Linked DNA regions of Homo sapiens: region 2 is linked to region 1. Evidence: promoter capture Hi-C in 16 types of primary human blood cells and fetal thymus (Javierre and others, 2016). All regions are on one chromosome and are shown on one strand. The core of a region is centred on a gene start or on the middle of the fragment in contact, and the rest is flanking DNA. Distances in the headings are between cores, read along the strand shown.

The links. Contacts are between HindIII fragments. The CHiCAGO score rates a contact against its expected background, and 5 or more counts as called.
Region 2: a contact is called between a fragment that was not itself captured here and the fragment with the promoter of LINC00636 in region 1, in 6 of 17 cell types (activated CD4 T cells, naive B cells, M0 macrophages and 3 more). The highest score is 5.8, in activated CD4 T cells.

The regions. Positions count from the first base shown.
Region 1 is chr3:107,880,907-107,884,908 of GRCh38, reverse strand. It overlaps LINC00636 (long intergenic non-protein coding RNA 636), which reads right to left and starts at 1,704. Exons shown (of 3, transcript NR_015394.1): 1 at 1,603-1,704. The HindIII fragment of the contact is 1,611 bases long and covers 402-2,012 here.
Region 2 is chr3:108,393,447-108,397,994 of GRCh38, reverse strand. MYH15 (myosin heavy chain 15) reads left to right here. Exons shown (of 41, transcript NM_014981.3): 36 at 3,839-3,964. Among named protein-coding and RNA genes, the nearest start is that of HHLA2, 99 kb to the right of the region's middle. The HindIII fragment of the contact is 6,952 bases long and covers 1-4,548 here.

The DNA.
Region 1 (4,002 bases), core at 455-2,954:
TCATTGGGACCATCTTAGAATTCTATCACAGTGATCTTACAGAAATTTGCTTACAACACTTTTATGGTCTTCTTCATTTTTGCCTTTTAGTGTAGGTGATTTTTGTATATGTCTTGGCTCTCTCTACTAGAATGATAACAACTTAAGAGCAGAAAAGATGTTTTTGTTCTCCAAAAATTACTTTGGGATAGAGCTGAGACACACAAAAAAAGAGGGTGCTGAATTTCTTATGTCAAATCAGGCAGCAAAGATGTAAGTTACAATATAGCTAGAGAATTCAGATTCCATCTATGGAAATCAAATAATACAAAGTTGAAAATGTAGGTAAAGATGAAACTTGACAGACACATGATAAATTGAGTTGTGAAACTAAATTGTATCCCAGTTGAGATCTACAAGCTTGGAGTGTGCCAGGGATGAAGCAACTAAAACCAGATTATAGGAGGAGACTTGGAAGGTATTATTTGGTGGCTTAGGAAGTACCATTCTTTAAGTAACACCTAGATAGTGTCCCCAGGCCACAGTCCCTACCCCAACCTGAGTTGGTAACCTTCTGATGATCCCAAGTTTTACACAAGTAACCACAGCAGGCCCTTGATGATGGTTACTTGGGTAACCATCCTCTTAGTTGGGTAACTAAGTGTCCAACTCCAGGAAGTATAGATTTAAGTGGAATTGATTTTTGCATGTGTAAGCTATTTTATAGTCATTGTGTTGCTTCATATATGCTTTATCTGCTTTAAGATGTTTGAAATGGATAAGAGAATCTGCTTTATTAAATTTGTCTAATTTATTAAATTTATTAGATTTTCACAAAGATTGCAAATATCTTGCATGTTAGACTTGTAAGTTTGCTTAATAGGTGTTTGAATTATTTGGGAGAACTGGTTTTCAAATTGGTAATAATTGTTTGAAATGTCTAAAAATATCTAGTTAATAAAGTTTCTATATACTGTTAACATTTGAGAGATCTGATCCATAAAATTTATAAACTAATTGAGCATTAATTAAATAACAAATGAAGTTAAGTGCTTAAAATTCTTACACCATTATTAGATTTGCAAATATAGCAACAAGATTTGTGAGTTAAAAGTAAAGGCTTATAAAAACTAAGTTATAAAATTTATACCTTTTGTCAGTTCAACATTAACACAATCATAAGAAACTATCAGCATTAACTTCTGTGCAAGAAAAAAAGTCACATTTTGGGAACTAAAAACCCAATTACCATTATTAAACACTGAAGAGCAATATAACTGAAATGGAGATGAATCATCATAGCTATCATTTATTAGTTCCAACCACATAACAGTTCTGTGATAAGCTCTGCATTTGTGAGTTTGTTCATTTGTTTGTTTTTGAAGGTCAGAGATAATATAACTAAAGTATCTTGCCTCTTAAGTATATGTTAAACTGAACTGACAATCTTTTTAAATCTAAAAATATTACTTCACATACCAATCACAGTTCCTTTGCTCACAGGTAACAGAAAATCGGTCTAACTGTTTAAATCATAATAACAGCAACAACAGTAATAATATAAAGATTTTGTGGTTCAAGTAATTTAAGAAACCCAGAAATGGAAGGAGGTGTACTACTTACTTGGATCTCCCTTCAAAAAAGAACAAACTATCCACGTGTGCAGGATGCCGGTAACTGACAGCCGCCAGCCAGTGGGCATTAAGGGTCCTCTACAGTGTTGAGTTGGAACAACAGTGTTGAGCTTTCTCGACAGCCCTGGCGAATAAGTACAGTGGGAGTACTAGTGTCTGGGCATTTCCGCCCATTGTCATACTCTTCCAACAAGCAGCTTTTGCTCTAGATCTCCCTTTGGTGCTGGCAGAGACTTTATGAAATCTGCATCACAGTTTGAGGCCCTTCCTGCCCAATCCTGCGGGGTTTCCCTTTGTTTTCACAGGTGTCAGGCCTGGATCAAGGTCTGAAGGGTTTTGCTGCCCATATATTTCCTGTGCCTTGCTTTTATCTTTCACAAACATTACCTCAATAAAGCTTGGACACTGGTAATTCCATCTCCATATCTGCTTACCAGATGACCCTTCAGGTAAGCTTGCTCCAGCAGTTTAATGATGTCCCAGGACCGACTTCCTTTCTGTGTCTCAGCCTTCCCCAGTGGCAGAATAGCCCTAAAACTATTTTGATAGCTTCACCATATCAACATAGTTACCAGAACAACTGGGGTGGTTGCTTCCTGATTCACAACCAGTGGATGAAGGGAGCATCTTTTTTTAGCATCCATGAAAGACAGAATAATTTTATTCTCCAGATGCTCCCCATCAAACATCTTCTCTCTTTTTGACAAAGTTTGGATCATAATGCCATCCCAACCACTGTAACTAGGGCCCATCCCTGGAGCTGCTGTGAGATTAGTCCCAACCAATCTGCATGTCCCCATCAGAAAGGGAACAGAGAGAATGAATGCTGGGGAGGCAATCACTAAATTTCCATGACTACGAACATAAGCATCCTCAAACAATATCACACCACGGAATTAGTCTCATGAAGACACCGCTGCTACTAACAATGTGTATAGAAATTGGAGCATAAACCACTAAGAATACAGGCTGTAGAGGCCAGAAACCATTGGAACTGCACCGCTGCAGTTTCTGGAAGCTGAATGTCCTGTTGCTTCTGTTCCCGGTGTTGCCAGAGTAGACTCTGTAGAGTTCTTCCTTCTTCAAGTCACTGTATTTAATTCAAACACGAGCTGGTGCATCCTGCAGGCAGAGCCTACAGCTTGAGCCAATGTACTGGTTTCAGGAGAAGCAAGGGAGAAACTGTCTATTTCATCCCAGAGTGGGAGAATGTCACCTGTGGCATCACATGCAGAAGATTCCAGATTCTGGATTCTTTTGCGTTTGCTTTAGTTCTGCTAAAGTCTCCTGTGTATGATCCTCAGAAAGACATATGAGGGTTTTCCTCAGAACCTAAATTCTGTGAGTAAAGAATGCACTAGTGCTGAAACATTTGGGGCAAGAACAAGCATCAGTCACAACCGTCAACAATCACTCTCAGTTTTAACTTCTTTGGGGAAGCTGGTTACCGTACTTAAAACACTTGTATTCCATTTTGTTTTGTTAGTAAGACAAAAATGTATTGCCTTTATTAATACCAAACCCGTAGACTTTATACAGAATAGTTGCACTATTACCTCACTATGCCTATAAACATTCATCCTGGAAAGATTAAATTTAGACCAGCAAATGTTTATTCAGCTCATAATAAATGCAAGACCTTGTGCTAGGCGCTGGGAGATGACAAATTTGTCTTAAATTGTCACTGTGGTGACTACTTAGTCATTATTTTAATTCCTTCATCATGGAAAAATTGGGTATTAACTATTCATGATCTACTTTTATATTTCACTGTCAATTTTCCATTATTTCCAATTCTACAGAACAGCTGCATAATCTTCACAATACATTTTTAGAGGTTAATCTTACTATAATTTCTCTTTTGTTCATATCACAAATATCATTTTGGAATCCAAGGCAATAGATTATTTGAATAGAAAATGCAGCTATTAAAGATGTAAATTATTCTTATACTCAAGTTATTACTATTATTTTTGTGACAAAGGAATGTTAGAAATTCACAAATGTTTGTGTATGTTTTAAGGGGATATACTGTTTATGCTTGCGTTTGATGCTAACATATTTAGTAAGTGTCAACAGCAGAGAAGCCTTATAAGAAAACATTGACCAGAGCTCTATTTTAATGCTACATTTGGCACAATCCTATACTATTTGAACTGGATAAAAAGGTAAAGGTCAGGACACATCTTTGAACTGAGCTTTGAATTGACTTTCATCTCCATATATTTGTCACTTTGTGACCCACATCAGTTTTTCCATATTGATTCTATATAGCCTTTTCATGTTATACTCGAATCTTTTCATTTCTCCATCTGAAACCAAATCTACCACATTTGATCACAGGGGTGATGAGGCTATACTTTTTACTTTTATTTTCATGGTGGTTAGC
Region 2 (4,548 bases), core at 694-3,193, 510 kb before region 1:
GTGTGTGTGAGACAAAATTCAACCCATAACAATAAGCCTTATGCCAGAAGAATGGATTGTCAGGGCATCCACAGCCAGGATGCTGGGGAGGGAGGGATGAACATTCCCTAATGTTCCAGAACCACTCCTGCTCCTGGTTCTCCTGCTCTCTCTAAGCCATGTGCTTCCCCAGCATCCCAGGATAAAAACAATGCTCCTGTCTTGGAGCCAGGAAAGCCCTAACAATTCTGAGTGGCTGCTGACAAATATGATACACCGTCTGGACTCTGGCTTCTAATGGAAGGTTATGTAAGTGACACGAAGCAAGAATTCTTAGATCCTTCTCCTTATCCTAGAATCAGAAGAAGCCATAGTTTCTAGGACAAACATCTATAGTAAATGGGTTGTGTGATAAGTGTTTATAGGGCACCCCCACCATAACCTGGACTGGTATGGATGGTATAGACACAGAATGTCTCCACTGTCCTAAAAAAATGAAGATTGAACTAAGCAATTGTAGTACACTGCTAAAAGTATAATGATATAGCAAGCACACCCCTACAGAAAGCCTTCTTTGACAATCCAAGAGTTAGGTAGCTGCACAGTATGCTTCTTCTGAGTCATGAAGGACATGTAAGAAGCCAGCCAGGTAGAGAGGAAAGTCAAGGGCAGAGACATGGGGGCAGGGGGAAGGAGTTTAGGATTCTAAGGGAAATTCACATGCTAGAGTATTCGGTGGATAGCCAGAAGGATCAGAAATCATGCTGAGATAGGTGGGGCCAGGTCACCAGTGACCCTGAGCCTGAGAGTGATGGAGTTTGAATTTTATCTTGCAGCTCATGGAGAGCCACTGAAGAATTTTGAGTAGCTAAGAGTGAAGTTATCAGATTTGCATTTTAGGAAGTTTTACTGTGGTGATTATTGTGAAGGACAGATTAAAGCACCTAGGGGCAGAACTGCTACACTCTGGGGCATTTAGAAACATCTGTGGGATCATTTTAGTTGCCACAGTGACTGGGAAATACCACTGGCATTTAGTGAGTAGGGTCCAGAGATACCAAAACTCCTTCAAGGTGAAGGATAATCCCAAGGAACTGCCCCTTCCAGAATGCCAATGTTCCCCCTACTGAAAAATACTGGATAAAAGAAAGTATAAACCAGAAATGTGCCTGTTGAAAGATGTTGTAATTAGTTTGTGCCTACAGTTTGACTTTTGTGTCCATGTGTATGACACAATCCCGTCTGGGTACCATGTGGTATAGAACAAATAGTCTGTAGGTTATAGATAATTCCCAACAGGCTAACTCAAACATTTTTTTTTTCTCCTTCAAGAAAGTTTAAATACAATGAGTTGGATTCTTATAAAATAGACTACAGACTTTTTTTAAAAAAGTAACTCATCCACTGTCTAGAACAAGGTTTCCCAATCCCTGGGCCACAGACCAGTACAGGTCTGGGGCCTATTAGGAACTGGGCTGCACAGCAGGAGGTGAGCTGCAGGGGAGAGAGCTTTGCCTCCTGTCAGATCAGCAGCAGCACTAGATTCTCATAGGAGTGCAAATGCTCTTATGAACTGCTCATGTGAGAGATGTAGGTTGCATGCTCCTTAGGAGAATCTAATGCCTCATAATCTGAGGTGGAACAGTTTCATCCCCAAACCGTCTCCCCCCAACCCTGCTACCTGGTCTATGGAAAAATTTTCTTCCATGAAACCAAATGGGTTGGGGACCGCTGGTCTATAGTACTTAATTGCTGTTGGTAACAAATCATTTGCCATGCATATCATACATGATAATGCACCAGTGGGATCCAATATGATGCAAAATCACTAGCCTAGAGAGAGATGAGGATCAGCTAGAGAAAAAGCATTCATAGAGAGGAGAGGATTTGGGGAAGAAGAAAATTAGGTAGAGGAGACCTGGTCTCTAGGGCAGAGTTTCTGAAACTTGATGTGTACATATAAGAATCCCTAACACAAAAATGTAAATTCTCAGATCTCACCCCAGATCCACTAAATCAGAAGCTCTGCAATGGGACCTAGAAAGTGAACATGTTCTCAGGTGCTACTGCTCATAGAAAGACTACCCTTTGACCAGCACTGGTCTAGGTGATATTATTCACAAGGACCTCTCCCCAACCTAAACCATGCTGCGGCACCTTGCAGTTACTAGAACATTATCAAGCAAAACATACTGAACCTTTTAGGGAGCCTTCTTAGCTACCTCCTGCATTTCCAGATCTCCAGCCTAGGACTAACATTTGAGGCTAAACTTATCTTTGACTGATTACAGGTGTCTTTTTCAAACTTGAGCTGTGACAATCTAGATTACCTTTCTGCAAAGCACTTCCTAACTCCCTTTCTCCTAAAAAAAAAAAAAAAGAAAGAAAAAAAAAACAAATTAGAGAGTAATTCAGTTTGCAAAGATTTAAACCCTTGTCTCCCTAGCAAATTTTAAAGGATTCTATGTACAAACAAATTAGTATTTGTACTTATACCTTCCTCTACAAAGAAATAGTTTCTATGGAGTCTGTGCTGTGAGCATCCAAAAAACACTTCAGGAAAATACAACTTAATTCCACCCCATCTCTCAGGCCATGGCAGTGGAAATCTAGGAGGTATACAGGGCCTGGCTTTCCATAAGGACAAAAGATGGCAGTCTTGATAAAGATGCTTCATGCCATAGAGAAATGGGGTAGATAGAACCAGTGATGCTGGAATATCATTCTATTTTTTATTTTTCTTTTTTGAGACGGAGTCTCACTCTGTCACTCAGGTTGGAGTGCAATGGTGCAATCTCGGTTCACTGCAACCCCCGCCTCCCAGGCTCAAGCAATCCTCTCACCTCAGCCTCCCGAATAACTGGGACCACAGCTGTATGCCACCACACCCAACTATTTTTGGTAAAAGTTTTGGTAGAGACGGGGTTTCACCATGTTGCCCAGGCTGGTCTCAAACTCCTGAGCTCAGGAGATTCACCCCCGTCAGCCTCCCAAAGTGCTAGGATTACAGGCATGGGCCACCACACCTGGCCTGGAGTATCCTTCTATTTCCAAGTCTTCATCCTGCTACTGAGAAAGGCACTAGCCAGAGGCAAGTGAATGTGAAACGGATAAAGTGAAAGGAGAAATAAAAAAATAGAAAGCCTATGCCTTTTATATACACTGCGAGTTTTCACACCCTCAGAAAAGCTGGGCTTCAAACACAGACCAAATAGCAGCAAAAGGATATTTGGCCTCTAGTGTCACAACTCAGGAAGGAAAGAATTAGGGCAGCACCAACCACAGAACACAAAGAATCCTCCGTGGTAATGAGGGTACCTAAGGGCTGGAGGAGGCTTATTCTGAACTACTTTCCCCACCTCCTCACTGTAAAGTAAGATAGGAAGGGAAGTACAAAAAGAAGAGGAATGATTTTTTTTGTTTGTTTCTGGAGCAGCATACTTGGAGTTACAATTTTTATTCCCCAACCTCTGCTCCTCAGATGTCTGCAACTGACCCCAACTTCTGCTCTAGAACACTTGTTTCTACCACATCCAAAAGCAAGTGGCAGAGAAACATTTCCTCAACCCATTGAAAACCAAACACGTTTGGGGCTTGTAGGTTATCTAGATACCCTTCTTCCCTTCTGATTCAGGCTGCCATCTCTTTAGTCTTGAACTTCTAATGGGTGAAATCCCTTCCATTCAAGTTTGATGGCAAAAGCCTTTCGGGATTGGGAGCACTGCTTAAGGGACTATGGCTCACTATAATAAAATTTGCTTCTGGCCAGAGCTGACTCCCATTGCATGTCCTGAACAGACCAGCTTGCATTTGCATTGCTGGTTTTTACTTGCCTAATAGGAATGCTGCTTTTCTTTAGAACACAAGCCTCCTCAGCCAGAAGAAGAAACTGGAGGCTGATGTTGCCCGGATGCAGAAAGAAGCTGAAGAGGTGGTGCAGGAGTGTCAAAATGCAGAAGAGAAGGCCAAGAAGGCAGCCATTGAGGTGGGTCCCTTGACCACGTACTCAATCCTGTCTCCCAGAGTTCACTGGCGCAGTGGCCAAGGGGCAGGGCCACATCTGCAGCCAAAAAGTATTCCATTGATTTCCCATACAGCCAGGGGGAGGTTAGTCTGACCTCTCTGCCTCCCTGTTCTCATCTTGAAAAATTAGGCCAATTAGCTCCTCCCACCAACATACCCTGGTGATGAAAAGGAGCAGTTGAATTGCTATAAGCAAAACCTTATAAAAGCAGGAGTCTTCTTTTGTTTTGGTTAAGCCACTTTTCATTTGTGAATCAATACATCTAGTGTCTAGAAACAATTCTTTCTGTGTTTCCTTACAAAAAGCTATTTTTCCTAGGGTCTATAACAGTTTTATGATGATGATTTGGAAAGAATGTTTAATTCACTTATTTTTTTTACAACCTGTACTACTGCTTGAAGAGCAAAATCAGGTTGGTAAAAAAGGGTTTCAGGGCTGCTGTACTTTCTTTATTTTCCAGTTGATGATGGCAGTGATTTTCCTAAATGATGTTGAGCTCAGAGTTGGCTGCCAGCTTTGGCGCACCTTCATAGGGACTGAAAAAA